2 separate regions of the Homo sapiens genome follow, and region 1 is linked to region 2. The links are contacts of gene promoters, found by promoter capture Hi-C in blood cells and fetal thymus (Javierre and others, 2016). All regions are on one chromosome and are shown on one strand. The core of a region is centred on a gene start or on the middle of the fragment in contact, and the rest is flanking DNA. Distances in the headings are between cores, read along the strand shown. Region 1 overlaps KCNQ1 (potassium voltage-gated channel subfamily Q member 1). Region 2 holds the start of KCNQ1OT1 (KCNQ1 opposite strand/antisense transcript 1).

Evidence for each region. Contacts are between HindIII fragments. The CHiCAGO score rates a contact against its expected background, and 5 or more counts as called.
Region 1: a fragment that was not itself captured here is called in contact with the fragment with the promoter of KCNQ1OT1 in region 2 in 1 of 17 cell types (M1 macrophages); the score reaches 5.4 in M1 macrophages.

What each region holds. Positions count from the first base shown.
Region 1 is chr11:2,596,100-2,600,447 of GRCh38, forward strand. All of the region lies in intron 10 of KCNQ1 (potassium voltage-gated channel subfamily Q member 1), which reads left to right. Among named protein-coding and RNA genes, the nearest start is that of KCNQ1OT1, 100 kb to the right of the region's middle. The HindIII fragment of the contact is 572 bases long and covers 1,392-1,963 here.
Region 2 is chr11:2,697,659-2,701,816 of GRCh38, forward strand. KCNQ1OT1 (KCNQ1 opposite strand/antisense transcript 1) reads right to left here and starts at 2,336. Exons shown (of 1, transcript NR_002728.4): 1 at 1-2,336. The region is part of intron 11 of KCNQ1 (potassium voltage-gated channel subfamily Q member 1); the gene reads left to right. RefSeq lists silencers at 2,470-2,739, 2,750-2,819 and an enhancer at 2,537-3,776. The HindIII fragment of the contact is 24,274 bases long and covers 1-4,158 here.

The DNA of each region.
Region 1 (4,348 bases), core at 428-2,927, 100 kb before region 2:
AGAGAAATGCAAATAAAAAACACAATGAAATACCACGGCCCAATTATTATATTATATAAAATGAGGGAGATGGATGATACCAAGTGTTGGTAAAGATGTGTCGGAGGTGGAACTCTCATATGCTCCCGGTGAGAATGCAAAGTCCAAAGCGATGCAACCATTTGGGAAACAGTTCAGCAGTTTCTTGATGTGTTAAATACATACCTACCATATTCTACAGCGATTCTATTCCTAGGTATTTATCCAGGAGAAATAAGATCATATGCATGCCACCATTTGTACATGGAATATTCATAGCAGCTTTATAAAAACTGGAAACCCCAAACTGGAAGCAACCCAAATACCCATCAACATTTGAATAGATTTTTTTCAAAGTTGTAGTATATTCCTAAAATGGAATACTACTTAGAAATACAAAGGAATGAACCACTGATATGCCTACAATATGGATACATTGCAACATAATTATGGTGAGTGAAAGAAGCCAGACAAAAAAAAAAAGAGTACATGGTATCTTATTTATGTAAAAATCTAGAAAATGACCACTAATATAGAGTGACAAACAAGTCAGTGGTTATCAGTGGTTACCTGGGGATCAGGGGTAGTAGTAGGAGGGAAAAGGACAAAAGGGCACAAAAAAACTTTTGGGGCAGTGGATATGTTCATTATCATAATCATGGCGATGGTTTCATCATGTGTCAAAAGTTACCAAATTGCACACTTTAAACATAAGCAAGTTATGTCAATTATATCTCAATAAAACTGTTTATAATATATAATGTAAATATATAATATATATTTTGCATAGCAAAAAAACATACTGAAAATAATTTTTTATTGATAACCTAAAGAAACCAGTTGCCACTCACCTATAGGCATGGGGCTAATTTAATTGCTATATAAAAACGCTCTTGTAAATCAAGATAGAAGTTAAAGGATATTAAAACAGTTCACAGAAAAGGAAATACCAATAATTCTTAAGAATGAAAATATGCTGGATGACTTCAATTATGACAAGAGAAATGCAAACTAAAGCAATGGGGTTTTTGAAACTTATCTGATTATTAAATATCAAAGAGTTTGATAACACTCTATGGGTATGTGTACATGGAAACTCTCAGTCTCAGTCATTGATGTTAGAAAAATAAATTGATACAAACCTCTGTGGAGATAAATAAGGCAATTTCAATCAAAATTAAAGATGCATATGCCTTTGAATCATTCTAGAAATTTATTCTACACATATCTTACACATTTGCAAAATAATCCATCATCAGGATATTGATTTCTGCAATTGTTAAATAGCAAAAAATTGCAAACCACCGACATACCCATCAGTGGAGGTCTGCTTCAAGTATCATATCTCCGTTAAACAGCCATCAAAACTGTGAAGCTTCACTCTCATCACTGATGCAGGACATCCCTGATATCTGATCCTAGAAATAACAGTACATCTTTCAGAAGAGTATGAAATCTGCCATCATGTGGGGGCAAATACAATGGTTTACAAAACAAAGTTTTATCTACCTTCCTTGTTCTGTGTCTTGGAACTGTTTGAAGAACATTGGGATTATCTTTTCTGTAGAGGTTAAATAGAATTGAGTTGTAAAACCATCTGGGCCTGATACATGTTTTATAGGATATCTTTAGTAATTTCTTTTTAGTCTGTTTTATGATATGTTGTTCTAAATTAGTTTATTGCATCTTTTGGAGTAATTTATTCATTGCTATTTAATTTCCTCAAGCATTTCAATTGTGTTGCCACTTGGTAGCAACTGATTTTTTCCTTTAGTGATTTTATGGTCTTCTCTATCATCTCTTCGTTTTTCTTTTCCTTTATGCCTGAACTTTTGTGGTTTTTCTCCTTTTTTCTTAATCAAGCACATGAGAAATTTATGTTTTATTTATATTTTATTATCAGAAAACTATCTTTGTACTCTTTGTTATCTATTTCATTAATCTAAGCTTTTATAGCTATTAATTCCCTTTTCTTGGCTAACTCTATTTTTGTTTTCTTTTACTTAAGAGTCATAGTTCATTTATTTGAAGTTCTTCTACTAAAGGCATTTTTAAAGGCTATAAATTTTCCTCTGATTGCAGCTTTAGCTGTGACACGTAGATCTGATTATGAAATATGTTCCTTTTCATTGCTTTCTTGATAGTTTTAATTTTGTGTTTTGATTTTTCTCTTTAGAGTTCTTTTAATGTCTTCTTAATTTTTAAGCAGTAAATTTTTATCACTGTTATTTATTTCTAATTTAGTAGGCTTACAGTGAAAGGATGTAGCCTATGAAGTCTCCACTTTTTTTAAAATGAAGATTTTCTTTGTCTCCAAGTATGAAAATAACATCATTATTTTTGTAAATGCTCCACAGACCTCAGAAAATATCTTCTGTATTTGTATAACACAAAGTTTTATTTGTATACATGGACAGACAAAATGTACATTGAGATGGATTGTGTATACATACTTATTCATTGCCTCATTTAGGTCTGCTCTGCCCTTAGTTAAAAAAAAAAAACCCTAATACATCTGCCAAATTCTGAGACAGGAAAATTAAATCTTCCTGTACAATTATGTTTCTAAAAATTGAGTGGCAGGTTTCATGGAGTGGTTTGGAGCACAGCCTATATGGCCAACCTTCTTTAGGGTCATAGCCCAGCTCTGCCATTTTCTTATGTGGCCCTAAGCAAGCTACTGCATTCTCTGTGCCTCAGTTTCCACATCTGTGAAATCAGGATCCTAACTGCCTGCTCCCAGGACTCCTGTGTTGACTGAGTGAGTTAGAACATGTAAGTGCTCACCCAGGACCCATATGCAGCAAACAGTCTTGTGTCTCTGTCTGCTGCCAAATTGGCCTCAGGCTCTATCAATACCAGATCTGAATAGGGGCTATTCTTTCTTTTAGTGTCCTTAATGTTGTATTACTTTCCAATATTCACACTTTAACTTTACAGATGAGTAGAATGGAATAGATGTGTTTCAGTACAGAACTTTTTTCTTATGTTTGCTTGGGCTCCCCTCCTCTCTGTTACCTATGTTGATAATCTAGGATTTGTTGTCTTACATTTTTCCTGATGTTCATATAATATTCAATGAAATAAAATACATGTGACATAATGAAGGCATTATCATTGTTTTCCAAACTCACGGGATCATATCATACCTGCTTTCTGCATCTTGTTTTTCTCAATCAGTAAAATAGTAAAAATGCCTCTAAGGCTGCTGAAACAATTTTATTTTGATTTAATTCTATCTCTAATTGAATTTTATTTCTATTTCAATTCTATTCTAAAATTTATAATCTCTGCTTAATTTCCTTTGGTGTACATACTCTGTGATGTTCTCTATCGCTTAAAATTCATTTTGTTCAAGAACATAGGTTCTTGAACCTGTTTCTATGTACAGAACTTTTATTTCTATGTGTTAACTTTCCAGGATGTATTAGTTTGCTAGGACTGCCATAACAAAATACCACAGGCTGGGTGGCTTAGACAGCAGACATGTATTTCTCACAATTCTGGAGGATAGAAGTCTGAGATCAAGGTGTCAGCAAGGCTGCTTTCCCTGAGGCCTCTTTCCTTGCCTTGCAGATGGCCGCCTTCTTCCTGTGTCATCACATGACCATTGCTCTGGGCACTTGCACCCTGGTGTTTCTCTGTGTGTCCAAATATCCTTTTCTTTAAGGGCACCAGTCACACTGGATTAGGGCCCACCCTAACAGCCTCATTGTAGCTTCATCACCTCTTTAAAGGTCCTGTCTCCAAACATGCTGAGTCACGTGCCGAGGTATTAAAGACCAGGGCTTCAACTGCAAACCTTGTGGGACACAATTCAGCCCGTGACACAGGAATAGGCTTGTTAATTTCAGTGATGTAGCCAGGTTGTTTTTCTCGTTTTGTCTGACCTTGAATTCCACAGGCAGGGTTCCTCTTTCCCGGCCGGCATTCCTGCCCACCAGTCCTGGCAGAGTGACTTATTGTCAGCCAAGTGGGGCAGAGTTTCTCCACTGTACCTCTATTGAAATCTAGTGCCGGATAATTCTTTGTTGAGGGAGGAAGTCCTGTCTATTGCAGGATGTTTAGCAGCATCTCCGGCCTCAGTTATGACCACCAAAAACATCTCCACATGTTGCTACATGTCCCCTGGAGGGCAAAATTGCCCCCAGTTGTGACCTGCTGAGCTAAAGCAGTCCCTCAGGATTGTTTCTTAAAACAAAACAAACTGTTTATTTGGCCATAATTTTGAACTACAGAAAAATTACAAGCACGAGATATAAAAACACCTACATACCCTTCACTAAGATTTACCAGTTTACTAATTGTTACATTTTGCCACATTTGCTTT
Region 2 (4,158 bases), core at 1,086-3,585:
TGTGAATTACATGGATAAAGTTTCTGATATTGGATCATCTTTGCATTCCTAAGAGCAATCCCACTTGTTTAAGAATTGTTGTTTAATACATATTATTGGATTCAGTTAGCTAGCATTGTACAAGGAACTTCTGCATCTACATTCATAAGGGAAATTCTTTATAGTTTTCTTGTGCTTTCTATCTGAATTTGGACATGCTCTGATTCGCAATTTTAAAAAATCCCTCTAGCTGGAGCATAAATCCTGAAACAGACCCACTTTTCTCCTCAGCATGTTAGGAAACACATTAAAATACACCCATAATCAAGCAACTCAATCCTTAAATTTTTCTCCTACTGAGTATCTGGAAAACAGGTGCAGAAATGGATCATTTGAGACACCATAGAAATCTGGTTAATCCTGCCTGCCTGCTTTCCTTCAAGTACTGACTGAGTAAGGCTGTGTATCAGGCTCTTGGCTGGGTACAGAGCAGGCAGCAGAAAACAAAACAGAGTTCCTCGTTGGGAGCTTTTGGTCTAGCAAAAGGGGCACCACAGTAAAGAAAGAACTGGTAAATGCACATCAAATGTGGATATTATCAGGAAAGTTTTTATACTTTGTGATAATCTAAGACAGAACTATTCTACCTGGATGAATTATTCTCTTTCATAACCAGAACAGTGCTGTGGGAAGGCACTCTTACTCTCAATTTTATATAAAAGGCTATTTGACCTGCTCAGGGACCACAGTGGGGTACTGGGATCTGAACATAGTGGTGGCCCTTCAAGCCTACTACCCAGACTGAGACCTGCATCTGATCAACTCTCATCTCCAATATGACCAAGAGACTTCTACCACTACCTCTCACCTGGCAGGTGATCACCACCCCCAACTCAGACTGCAACCTTTACTTCGCCCCCTAATTCCTGACTCAGAATCCCCACCTAGAGGCAGAACTTCGACTTCAATTCCTGACTCCCATACCCCACTGAGACCTCTAACCCCAATCCCAATCTCTTAACTCAGAGCCCCCCATTCAGAACCTCTACCCAAAGACAGACTCCAGACCCTGACTCCAGTCGCCAACTCGGACCTCCCTTGGATCTCAACTCAGAGCCATGATGCAGACTCCAGACCGGGATTCAGGTCCCCAACTCAGACTCCCGATCCTCTGTCCCTAATGAGGCCCTACCTAAAACCACCATGCGGACTCCAGACCCGGACTGACTGGGACCCCAACTACTCAGATCCCAACTCAGGCAAACTCCCAGCCAGGATGTGGACCCTAGACCCGAATTCTGATCCCAACTAGGATACCTAACTCAGAACCACAACGGGGATTCCCACCTCCGATCCTAATTCGGGCCCTGACTCAGAACCACTAAGTGGATTTCCGACTCCGGTCCCAATTCGGGCTTTGACTCAAAACCACAACATGGATTCCCAACTTCCATCCCAATAGCGCGGACTCAGAACCACGATGCGGATTCCAGACTCCAATCCCAATTCAGCCCACTCTGAACCACCATGAGAACTATAGACCCGGAATCCGATCCTTGGGACGCGGCCAGGAACTCGGACCTCGACCCTGGCCACGCTGTCCATAAGGTGCAGATGGGAGCGCACTGCCCAGGCCAGGCTGCACTGCTGACGCCTGTGATCTGGGACGGCCGCGGGGCACACAGCTCACCTCAGCAACGCCAGTGATCACCCGTCCCGCGCCGTCCGCCCAGGTCCGTGCTGACCGTGTTCAAACCCTCCCAGAGAGATGGGGAGGGCCGCGCTGAGGAGAGTCTGGGAGAACCGCACTGAGGAGCCGCCGGGAGAGTGCCGCGCTGAGGAGCCCCCGGGGAGAGTGCCGCGCTGAGGAGCCCCCAGGAGAGTGCCGCGCTGAGGAGGCCCAGGGAGGACCGCGCGGAGGAGAACCATGCTGAGGAGCCCCCGGGGAGAACAGAACCGCGGCGAGAGGCCCCCGGAGAGAACCGCGCCGAAGAACCCCCGGGGACAACCGCGCCGAAGAACCCCCGGGGAGAACCGCGCCGAAAAGCCCCGGGTGCCCCGAGGAGAACGGCGCCGAGGAGTCCCCGGGGAGAACTGCGCCGAGGAGCCCCCAGAAGAGCGCCGCGCTGAGGAGCCCCGAGGAGAACCGCGCCGAGGGGCGCGCCGGGGAGAACCACGATGACTGACGCACCGAGGAGGACCGCGCTGAGGGGCGCACCGGGAGAATCGTGCTGAGGAGCCCCGGGGAGGACCACGCTGAGAGGCACCCCGGCAGAATCGCGCTGAGGGGCGCCCTGGCAGGATCTTGCTGAGGAGCTCCCTGGAGGTCCGTGCTGAGGCGACGCGGCGACCGTTCTGCCTGGAGACTGCGGCAGCGCTCCGACTGCCCCCGCCGCTGCCGACGTGGCGACCGCCCCCCACCTGCTGATTGGGCGGCAGCAGGGGAAGGCTTGCGGCGGGCTGCTGCACGGATTGGCTGGGTGCGGAAAGTGATGTGCCGTGTCCTGTCATTGGCCGAAAGAGTCTCGTTTTGATGCCACCCGGGCTCAGATTGGCCCAGCGGGTCCAGCGCCGCATGAGGCACTGGCTGGGTGTGAGGTGGCGCGAGCCGCCGCCCTCCCTGCCCCCACCCGTCGTCCCTGAGCACCACCGGGGGCCGGGGCCAGCGCCAGCCTCAGCGTTGGCATCGCCGGGGTGAGCTGGAGACACGGGCCAGTTCTCTGCGTGATGTGTTCACCACCCCGGGGTGACCGCGTGAGGACAGCGGCCGCACCCCGACACTGCTGTGGGCCCTCGGTGTGGAGGCCTGTGGGCGTCCAGGCCACGCCCGAGACCAGCCCCTCCGCCGGCGCCGCTGCAGCGACCCTCGAACCCGGGCAAGGTCTCCACCGCCGTGGCACCGGGTGCGGGAGGCGTTTTCCCCCCTCCCAGCGGGTCCATGCAGGGGATCGGGATGTTCTGAAGCCCCCACTGCTGTGCCTGGAACACCCGTGTCTGCCGCTCACCCCTGAGGACTTGGGACCTCAGGGGGTGAGTGGCAGGGGTGGCCGGGACATGCCAGGCCACCCACCTGGCAAAGGGCAGCGCCGAGGGCGCCCCGCGCCTGCCAGCGCCCGGCCGGGCCCGCCCTGCCCACCTCCCATCCCCCATCCGGGCGTGACACTTGACCGCGTCTGCCGGCCCCTCCCCTTGTCCGTCCCCTCCGCGCCGCTGGCGCGCGCCTTCTGAATGCCAAGCATTGCCATAAACTCCGGGGACAAAAGCCTGGGTCACAAAAGCCCCCTCTAGAAGTTCACACCCTGAGGCTTCCCTGGCAAGGCTGGGGGCCGTTTGGCCCTTCCATGTGGACTGCAAAAACAGTGTTGGAATGCAGGACTCTGGGTATGTTCTCGAAAGTTGTTACAACCCCAACCCAGGGTTGACCTCAAACACAGGAGGAAGGGGGAGGCTGGAGCCAGCCAAGCGAGCCAGCCGTCCCCCCACCAAGGCACGCAAGGAGGCCATTCATCTTCACTGCCTCTGCCGAAAATATACGTCTACGGGAGAGCCAGGAATCTCTCTCCAAGGGTGACCGGGTTGGGGGTTTTGTTGTTCTTCAGCCCAGAAGAGAAAGAGAAAATGGTGTCATTTTTTCAGGCAGCAAGTGATTCCTTTCAGGCCTTCAGCAACGACGCCCAGATGAGTCCACTCCCTGCCTCCTGCTCAGCCCACAGGCAATCTGGGCACAAGTGACACATCCCCTGGGCGCCTGTCCCTTCGCACTGGCCCAGGGAGTTCATGTGTCTGATCAGAGGGCGCAGTCCACCCTCACTATCTAGCTGGGAAGTTTTTGTCATCTGCCTGTCCGAGAGGCAGCTGTGCAACCAGTGCCATCACTCAGAGCCAGTGCTCAGGTGCACCCCAGACTCAGGGTTTCACGCTATAATGTCACTGTCTTGAAATTCTTGATAGTTACTATCTTTGAACTTGTGTTTTAGAAGTGAAGTCTGAGGGGAAAATGGAGCTTGGAACTTCAGCTCCCAAGTGGCTTTCCCACCTTCCTGCCTCCTCAGGACAGATTATCAGCTGCCTGTCTGCCTGCTTCCTCTGTGCCCAGCCTCTCTCTTGACATCCAAAGGATCACAACTCCCACTCAGTGACCACTATTATTCTCTGCCCCTGACCAAAAAGAGCAGGGCA